3 separate regions of the Homo sapiens genome follow, and regions 1 and 2 are each linked to region 3. The links are contacts of gene promoters, found by promoter capture Hi-C in blood cells and fetal thymus (Javierre and others, 2016). All regions are on one chromosome and are shown on one strand. The core of a region is centred on a gene start or on the middle of the fragment in contact, and the rest is flanking DNA. Distances in the headings are between cores, read along the strand shown. Region 1 overlaps SLC2A13 (solute carrier family 2 member 13). Region 2 has its middle 2.5 kb from the start of ABCD2. Region 3 holds the start of PUS7L (pseudouridine synthase 7 like).

Region 1 (2,829 bases), core at 118-2,617, 3.7 Mb before region 3:
TCTCAGCAAATGATTGCTAATACCCAAAATTTCAAAGACATGAGAAGACTTAAGAAAGAAGGTAAAAGAGCTTAAAAGTATAATGGGAAAACAAAAACCCTCACATCTCAGATTCAAGAGATGTTAAATCTGATTACATTATTTACTGTTAAAAACCTCTAAAAGCTCTCCAAATAAACCATATTCAGCCTAATCCCCCCAAAACATTCCAGTCTCATGACCACCTCATCACCACCCTCACTCATCTATGCTTCAAATACTAATTTGATTTTTCTGTGCCTTTACACCAGCTATTAACTCCACCTTAAATGCCCAGTAGGGTAACAGAGCAAAAGACTCAAGGTTGTTTGTTTTTTTTTTTTAATCCTGTCTCTGTAATCAGTGACCTTGCCATTTAACTGTTTCCACACCCAACAAAAGGAGACCCATTCCTCAGACTCAGGAAGATTAAATGAGGTAATATGTGTAAAGTACTCCACCAGGTCTCGAACATACTAAAGCACTAAATAAGCACTTTTCTGGCTACATCTACATCATCTGCTGAACACCTACTCACTCTTCAAACCCTACTTTGAATATCCCACTGTAGAACTTTCCTCAATCCTGTGTTCTATTTTTTTCCCTGAAAGAATCAACTGACCACTTACTCTTCTGTGTGTCATCTGGCACTACAGAGAAATGTCTCTTTTAATTGCTTGTTTATGTATCTTTCTACTCCATTATAAAATGAACACCTCCAGGGTGGGATTTTTATCTAATTACTGCCTGCCCCATATCTGACAGGATCCATAATGGAAGCTTAATTAGCAAGTGTTGAATAGATAATGATTTCATTAAACTATTACAACCAAAACCTTTAGATGCCCTTTCAAATATTTTGATAATGCACTATTTTTGTGGTTTGAAAAGAACAATCCTACCTTAAAGTGCTACCCGACCAGCAATGGAATTTGGATTTTTTTTTTTCGTTTTTGCTCACCATTCATTTATTCAACAAGTATCTCCTATGTGGCAGGAATATATCAGTGAACAAAATGAGCAGAAATCCTTGACCCACATGGGCCGTATATTTTACCACAGGTAAACGTGTGGAGGAAAGAAGTTCTTAGAGCAAACTTGTCTGAAAAAGGTATCAAAAGCCACATTTTGTTATTCATCAACATTTCCTAAATATCATAAGGACAAAACAACAAATCCCTGACTACACATAAAATTTAACTACTTAAAAAACAATGGCATAAAATTAACCCAGATTGTGTACCAAACAAGCAAACTGATTTAATGTCCCTCAAAAAATGCTCATGTTAGGAACCCATTTCCTTGTAGCTTAAAAAAAAGTGATTTTCTTTGTAAGTTTTAATGATTTTATGTGTATAATTACATGCTTTGCATAGATCCTAATTTTAATCCTAATTTGAAGTGGATTTATTTCATTACTGTTTTGTTTTGAATGCGGCCTATTTCAAAGCCTGTTTATGATCTTAAAACATTCTTCATTTTGTAAATGAAGAGGGCTTTTACGAAACTGCCTCAGGGCTTCTATTCTGAGAGGTATGTTTCTGGAAGTGAGATGGGCCACACCAGAACTGAATGGAGAACATATCTAAACTGGGCTTCTCTATTGAACCAACCAGCCCAGAGACCACAGAATGAGGCTGCAAGACAGAGAGGCCTCCACAGCTCTTGCACACCAACACTTCCAATCTGATCTCCTGCTTTGTCCTCTATTGCTGCTTCCACCTATTCCCCAAGTATGCCCTATGCTTTCCTTCCTTTACCCATTTTGCCCCTTGCTTAGAACGTCCTTTCCTCGTTTCTGTTAAAATACTGACATGTCAACATACCATTTCCATTGGTAAGAGCTTCTGGCTTCCCTCTGTTGGAGATAACTGTACCCCCTCTGAATTCATCAGCCATCTCTGATAACCTATCTTATAAAGCTTAGCAAGTTCTACGTTGCTTTTGCCCCAGCTTGCTACATTTACTAAAGTATAATACATTCTCCTCACTATTCAGCTCACAACATCTGGAAGGGGACCTTACACAGAACAGGGCTCAATTCGCAGGTCAGATAAAAAGAGTAAACATAATACCCAAGATTTTAACCAATACCTGCCATAGCAAAACACTAGGAAGCTTCATTTAGACAGCTCTGCAAAGCATGATTCAATTTCAAAATTACAGAAAAGATTGAGGTTGACAGAACAATTCTTGCTACCTAAAATGATGTTATTTCTATGTCAGAAGCAACAAAAAAGGTCCAGATGTCCCAAGCAGACAATGCTGAGAAAAGAATCGTGGTCACTTAAACAGCAGGTTATTTGTTGAAGGGTCCTGAAGGCCCAAGTAGTTTCCACACAAATAGGTTTCATTTCAGCTGGATTTTTTGGTCACTTTGGATATTTTTGTGCCAACTTAATATGTTACGGAGAGCTTTGCCCTACCTTTGCTAATTAACAGTACAATAAACAGCAAAAGGAAGGTCACTACTGACAAACTTTGAATATAAAGTGCAGTGAGCTGGGTTTTAGGCTCATGGTTCCCGCATGTGGAGTTGAATATATGGCCTTTGCTTCCCTTCAGAACCCACAGAGAAAGGGTGAAAAGCACAAACATCAAACAAGTGGTGAATACACAGATCAGCAGCAGCCCCAGGTTTAAAGCGCTTTCATCAAGCCCCAGCCATAGGGAAGAAATACTTCAACAGCACCCTAAGGGAAACAAAAAACTGAATTATGAAACGAAACATTAAAAAAGCATCAGCGGTGTGTCTTAGAAAAATTACTAGTGAGATTTAAGTCACAGCCCCCCACTTTCCCTCAAAAGTGC
Region 2 (3,263 bases), core at 259-2,758, 4.1 Mb before region 3:
AATCTTCCAGCCCCATAACTGGAGATCTGATGTACTCATATTTATTTACAAGGTGACGACTATTAAATAAATGAGAGCAATGTTTCATGTTTACTACTCCCATGTGTTAGGTAGTTTTTACTTGGAGTGGGGTAGCACTTATAGTGAAAGTTTAACCATTTGGGAATTCAGCTGGTGTTGGATGGTGGAAATAGCTTCTCTAGGACCTTACTTCATTTTTCAAGAATGCTTTGTCTTTTGCAGGTTTCTGCTTTGTTTGTTTTGTTTAGCTGTAGAGATAATCTACTGGCTACTTCCTATTTCCATTTGGTTATTTGATAAAAACTAAGAGTCTTAAAATTCTTCACATCCATAATGGAGGATTTAAATTGTTCAACAGTCAAGGACAATTCTGCATATTTTTGAAAATGTAAAAAGCTTTTTTTTTTTTTTTTTTTTTTTTTTTTATGAGACAGAGTCTCTCTCTGTCACCCAGGCTGGAGTGCAGTGGCACGATCTCAGCTCACTGCAGCCTCCGCCTCCCAGGTTGGTGCCTCAGCAGCCCGAGTAGCTGGGATTACGAGGGTGCGCCTACCATACTTGGCTAATTTCTGTAGTTTTAGTAGAGATGGGTTTTGCCATGTTTGCCAGGCTGGTCTCAACCTCCTGGCCTCAAGTGATCCACCTGCCTTAGCCTCCCAAAGTGCTCGGATTATAGACGTGGGCCACCACGCCCAGCCAAGAGCATTTTTTAAGTCAGGGCTGAGTATATTTTTGGATATGGAAAAACCATTTTTTTTGCTCTTCACTGTCCCCGCCCCCCATCTCATTAAAATTCTCGGAAATCTCCCTTTCTGCTTGCTCTTCTGCTTGTGGTATCTACTGAAATCTTACAAAAGTGATATATATTCTGAAACTTCTGGGGATTTCTAAGTGACACTGAGTATGCTCAGTAGCTACAGCCAGTTTTGTTCACCAGCAGCTGGCCCCCAACATACATACACATTTCCAGTCAATTAAAAGCTTAGGAAAATATGCATCAAGCTAGAACAGAAGTTGGCAAATTACAACTGGTGGGCCAAATCTAGCCTGCCACTTAATTTTATATGACCCTTAAGCTAGGAATGATTTTTACATTTTTAAAGTGGTTGAAAATACTTCAAAACAAGAATATTTTGTCCTGTGAAAATTATATAAAATTCTCATTTTTGTGTTTATAAATAAAGTTTTATTGGAAAACAGTCACACCCATTCATTTACTCTCTGTCTATGGCTTCTTTCAAGCCACAGTGGTGGATGCAACAAAGACTAAAATATGTACTATTTGGCCCTTTATAGAAGTTTGCAAACCTCTGTGCTAGAATATAAAACCCATCTCAGCATTAAATGATCTTCATTACTGAGTTTATCACAAAGAACTATCCTCACTTTCATAAGTAACCATATTCTTAAAATTTTAAAACTTCTTTCTTATGTACTCATATTAATTCTGACAATCATCACATATCTCTTCATTTGTTTGCATTCAATTCAGCAGACTGACTGACACATGAGTGTCAAACTCATGCAAGTTTTTTTGATAGCTGGCCATATTAGTAGCATAATCCATCATCCCATTAAGACTTTTTAAGCCTGTATGTACAGATAATAGTGGTCATGGAAGTTATTGCCAAAATCTTTTATTCCTAAGCTCTTGCTTTTGTTGTATGCAAGATAAGGTTGCCTTTCATTTATGTCACATCTCCTAACAGCTACACACAAAAGGGTTAGCAGTGACAGGACAGGTTAAAGGCCAGAGTAAACCTAACTGGGGGTGATGGCAGGATGTTGTTAGGCAGAACATGGTACACAGAAGGATGCAGACAGCAGCTGGCAGTCGAGGCAAGTGGTTTGCAATACATACAACCAGAGACAGCCATATTAGGGGAGGAGCATGGCAGTGAGAACTCTAGAAGCAAAGGACACTAGAGATTCAAATAGGACTTAGCTGGAGGTAGGTCAGTTTACCAACTGATAATGAGGTTATAGTGCAGGAACAAGCTTTCAGCATCTGGAGTGAGAGACTTGTGAGAATGAAGAATTATTTATGAGGAAAATGATCAAGACAGAAATTTTGTTACCTGAATCGTGGTACAAGGAAGGTTGAAAGTGAGTTACTTGAAGTGTGGAAAATGTCAACGTGAAATTTGATTTGATATTGAGCCACTTAGGTGAAGACCTAACTCTAACCACTTAAATTTCACTCCCACCATTCACCTCTCCCTGCTCTCAAGGGTAAGAGTTGGTCCTAGTGTCTGAGACTAGACACAAGCCTTCAGATAAGGCAGAGGAAGGATTCAAGAAGACAGGAAGCCATATGGACAATTAGGTCAATAATATATGGCATTTAAGTAAAAAACTAAGAATGTCAAGGTACTTCTTTCAGTTTTTTCTTTTTCTTTTCTTTCTTTCTTTCTTTTTTTGAGGGGGATGGAGCCTCACTCTGTTGCCCAGGCTGGAGTGCAATGGCACAATCTAGGCTCACTGCCACCTCTGCCTCCCAGGTTCAAGTGATTCTCCTGCCTCAGTCTCTCAAGTAGCTGGGACTGCAGGTGCCCACCACCACGCCCAGCTAATTTTTGTATTTTTAGTAGAGATGAGGTTTTGCTACGTTGGTCAGGCTGGTCTCGAACTCCTGACCTCAGGTGATCCACCCCCGTCGGCCTCCCAAAGTGCTGGGATCACAGGCGTGAGCCACCGCGCCCGGCCTTCTTTCAGTTTTTTTCTATTGACAGTATGCAATTAAAGCTAAGAGACTGTTAATTTAGTTTGAATTCCAAACTAGGAAAGAGGAGAAAAAAATCTTTGTTACTGTAGTAAAAAACATACTTAGGCCTAATTTCCACACAAACGTCTCAACTTCAAGTGTGTTTATATGGGAGATTATTAAAATTTTCTTAAGAGGGGAGAAATCTTCTTAGAAAAGATCTTGAGAAACAATGAGAATAATTTTTAAAATCAATAATTCTCAAATCACTGTGCTCTCAAGTGTGATATTCTCATGTACCCTACCAATATCCATGAAAGAAATGAATTAAATGGAGTTTATATATATAGAATACAAATTAGAGACTATATATGTTTTATGAACTGTAAAACATCAGAAATTTTTTTGTAATAAAGAGAATTATATATATGTATATACATAAATGTATGTATAATGTATATTGTATATGTGTTGCATGTTCAGATTATGAATATCCAGAAAGTAAATAATTTTTAGAAATAGGTAAAGATAAATTGTT
Region 3 (3,204 bases), core at 462-2,961:
AATTGTTCCCTCCCCAATCATATAGCTGCATCTTTTAGGATTCATTTCCTCAGAGAAGTTTTTCCTGACCAATAATCTACAGGAACCTGCAAGTGATTCTCTTTTTTTTTGAGACGAAGTCTCACTCTGTCGTCCAGGCTGGAGTGCAGTGGCATGATCTCGGCTCACTGCAACCTCCGCCTCCCGAGTTCGAGCGATTCTCCTACTTCAGCCTCCCGAGTAGCTGGGACCACAGGGGCGCGCCACCACGCCCGGCTAATTCTTGTATTTTTTTAGTAGAGATGGGGTTTCACCATATTGGCCAGGGTGGTCTTGAACTCCTGACCTCGTGATCCACCCGCCTCGGCCTCCCAAAGTGCTGGGGTTACAGGCGTGAGCCACCGTGCCCAGCAAGTGATTCTCTTTCACAAAACCCTATTTAATTTTCTGCATAGCAGTTCTAGGTAAAGTTTTTCTTTATTATTTATTGTATATCTCCTCCAAAGAGAATGTTAGTTCCACGTGAGGAGTAACCTTGTCTGCCTTATTTACTACTGATGATCACACATTTTGAACAGTGTCAAGCACATGGTAGGTCTGCAATAAATACTATTGTTAAATAAATGAAATAACTAGTACAAAATAAGAGCTGTAGGAATGAAGTGGAAGATAATTAGAAGAGGCATAATGCAAGAAGTGGCCATCTAAGTCCTCCATAGTTCAAGAGATAGAAATGAGGCAGAGACCTCACAAGTAATGTACAAACAAAACATGCAATGTGTGCAAGAAAAACAAGCAGTCCAGATACAGAGCAGTGGGGATGGGAATGCAGGGAGACTACAGTGCTGGAAAATGTAGCTGAGTTAGTACCAGATTATGGAAGATGTTGAATGCCCTGACAAGGACTTAGAATCTATTGGGTGGTCAATGGATGGCTACTGTTAGTGTTTGAGTAGAAAAGTGACACAATTCCAAAACATGCTTTTGGAATTGTAAGATGATTCTGATGGAAATGAGCAAGATGTATCCGATGGAGTAACAGTTAGAGGAGTTCAAAAACAAAACAGCATGGTCAAGAACATAGCTGTAGGGATTGGCCCTGAAAGAATAATGATCTTTTCTTTCTCCCAGAAAAAAGGAGGAAGACAGACATTCTAAGCAAGTGAAACAGGTAGGGAAACTTGGGGAGAATGTAATTCCAGCATCCTGGTAGAAGAGTGGAACTGACCTGGAGGACAGCAAAGGAGCCCACGTGGCGTTAAGCCTGAAGGTGCAGTATTCCCATTCAACAGAGACTGCTGCTGACAGTGGGCGGGGGAGTAGTTTGCTTGGCCCGTGGTTGAGGAATTCGTTGGCGGAGGAGGGATCCTGAGAAGGTACTAGAAATACTGAACCCAGTCCTGCAGAAGCTACTTAACTTCACAGAAAACTAGGGCGTCGTTGCCCTCCAGCACGTCCAAAGGTGTCCCCGACAAGGCCAGCAGCTCTACCTGTTTCTTCTCCCTCCTCTTACTCTGCCTGTCCAAAGGCACGACACTAGTCCACGTCACCTTTCTTTGGGCGCAAAGGGTATGGATCCTCAATGCCAACCTCGTCACCCCCCCCCCCCACACACACACACACACACACACATACAAGCCCACCATCGCGCAAGAAACTCGACCCCGTCTACCTCGGTTCAGTGGAAGGCATTCATTTGCACAACGCTGTGCGCATGCCCGGAAGCCTTAAGTGTTTCAGCCTCCGACAGGGGCGTAATTAAAGGGGCAGGCGCCCACGTAAAGACGCGCCCTACGCAATACGTGGAGTTTCTCACTTTGTGGAGCCGCCTGGAGGCGCCAAGATGAAGCCCATCGGGGAAGTGGGGCGGGGCCAACCCGGCAGGCCCCGCCCCTTCGCGGCGCTTCCTAGTTCGGCTGGTTCTTCTGTCGCCGGCTTCAGCAGCCCGCGCCCGGGCAGGTAAGGCATTCCCCGCCTTAATGCCTCGGTCAAACGTCGTCCGAGGTCCGCTTCCAGGCCTCGGCACCTCTGCCCCAGGGTTGCTGGGGTCGGCTGCGGAACGGAAATCTCTTTATCATCCGTGAGAAAAGTTAGAGAGGAAGTGGGTTCCTTTGACAGAGCTTACTCCAGAAGAAAGACTTGGGTAGGTCCCCGGTAATCAAGAAGTTCGTCGGCCCTGAGGAAGAGCCTGAGGCTTGGAGGGACGTCACCCAGCTGTTCTGGGGCGCAGTCGGACCTCAAGTTTCTCACCTCTCAGGCCCTGGATTCCGTGAACCCGACTGCGAAATGAAGTCTCTTTTCCCCAGAACCAGGAAGTCAGGCCAGCACCTGACAGATGCCTGTGGCGCCAGCAGCTCGCTGAGCCTCCACACGATTGTAATTCGCTTGTTTCTCCGGCCTCCAAGCTTCCAGGGAATTAGAAAGTGGAGGCGGCTTATGGGATCAGATGAGTACATTCGCAGATGGGGGAAAAAAGTGTACCTGTCAGCTTGGAAGCCAGAGGGAGACAAAGGGATAAAAGCAAACCCTGTCCAGGTGCGGTGGCTCATGCTTGTAATCCCAGCACTTTGGGAGGCCCAGGCGGGCGGATCGCTTGAGGTCAGGAGTTCGAGACCAGCCTGGCCAACATGGTGAAACCCCTGTCTCTACTAAGATACAAAATTTAGCTGGCATAGTGGCGGGCGCCCGTAATGCCAGCTACTCCGGGGGCTGAGGCAGGAGAATCGCTTGAACCCAGGAGGCAGAGGTTGCAGTGAGCCGAGATCGTGCCACTACACTCCAGCCTGGGCAACAGAGGGAGACTCCGTCTCAAAAGAAAAAAAAAAAAAAAAAAGCAAACCCTGAGAAAGCGAGAAAGCACTTTGAGCATTTAGAATGGGAACAAACGGCGCTATTAGTGCTTCAAAAACGTAACTGCCCAAGGCCCCTGGTAAGCAGAGGATACTAAAATCTGCCTTTTCCCTTTCTTGGAGTGGTCCTTGAAGAGGGCTATCGGGAAGTTCAAATTTCTTCTGTTTTCCTGCAGAGCGTTCATTTGAAGTTTGCTTTCTACCTCTCCAAACTGAGCTTCTGATATTCCAGGCCAAACTTGCTCCTTCCTCAGCCTTCTCTATCTCAGTAAATATCGGTAAACTTGGTTATGCTGTCTTCTCACTCTCCACATCAGCCCATAGCTTTCTATTGGCTCCACCTCAGAATCCTAGGACTTCTGCACTTGCTCTGCTA

What was found. Contacts are between HindIII fragments. The CHiCAGO score rates a contact against its expected background, and 5 or more counts as called.
Region 1: a contact is called between a fragment that was not itself captured here and the fragment with the promoter of PUS7L in region 3, in 2 of 17 cell types (naive B cells and total B cells). The highest score is 7.2, in naive B cells.
Region 2: a contact is called between a fragment that was not itself captured here and the fragment with the promoter of PUS7L in region 3, in 1 of 17 cell types (total CD4 T cells). The highest score is 6.1, in total CD4 T cells.

Annotation. Positions count from the first base shown.
Region 1 is chr12:40,101,477-40,104,305 of GRCh38, forward strand. The region is part of intron 1 of SLC2A13 (solute carrier family 2 member 13); the gene reads right to left. Among named protein-coding and RNA genes, the nearest start is that of SLC2A13, 3.2 kb to the right of the region's middle. The HindIII fragment of the contact is 1,142 bases long and covers 797-1,938 here.
Region 2 is chr12:39,620,670-39,623,932 of GRCh38, forward strand. No RefSeq gene overlaps it. Among named protein-coding and RNA genes, the nearest start is that of ABCD2, 2.5 kb to the left of the region's middle. RefSeq lists an enhancer at 675-754. The HindIII fragment of the contact is 1,017 bases long and covers 1,001-2,017 here.
Region 3 is chr12:43,757,079-43,760,282 of GRCh38, forward strand. PUS7L (pseudouridine synthase 7 like) reads right to left here and starts at 1,712. Exons shown (of 9, transcript NM_031292.5): 1 at 1,652-1,712. It overlaps IRAK4 (interleukin 1 receptor associated kinase 4), which reads left to right and starts at 1,873. Exons shown (of 12, transcript NM_016123.4): 1 at 1,873-1,938. RefSeq lists enhancers at 1,400-1,449, 1,790-1,899, 2,520-2,579. The HindIII fragment of the contact is 3,611 bases long and covers 1-2,382 here.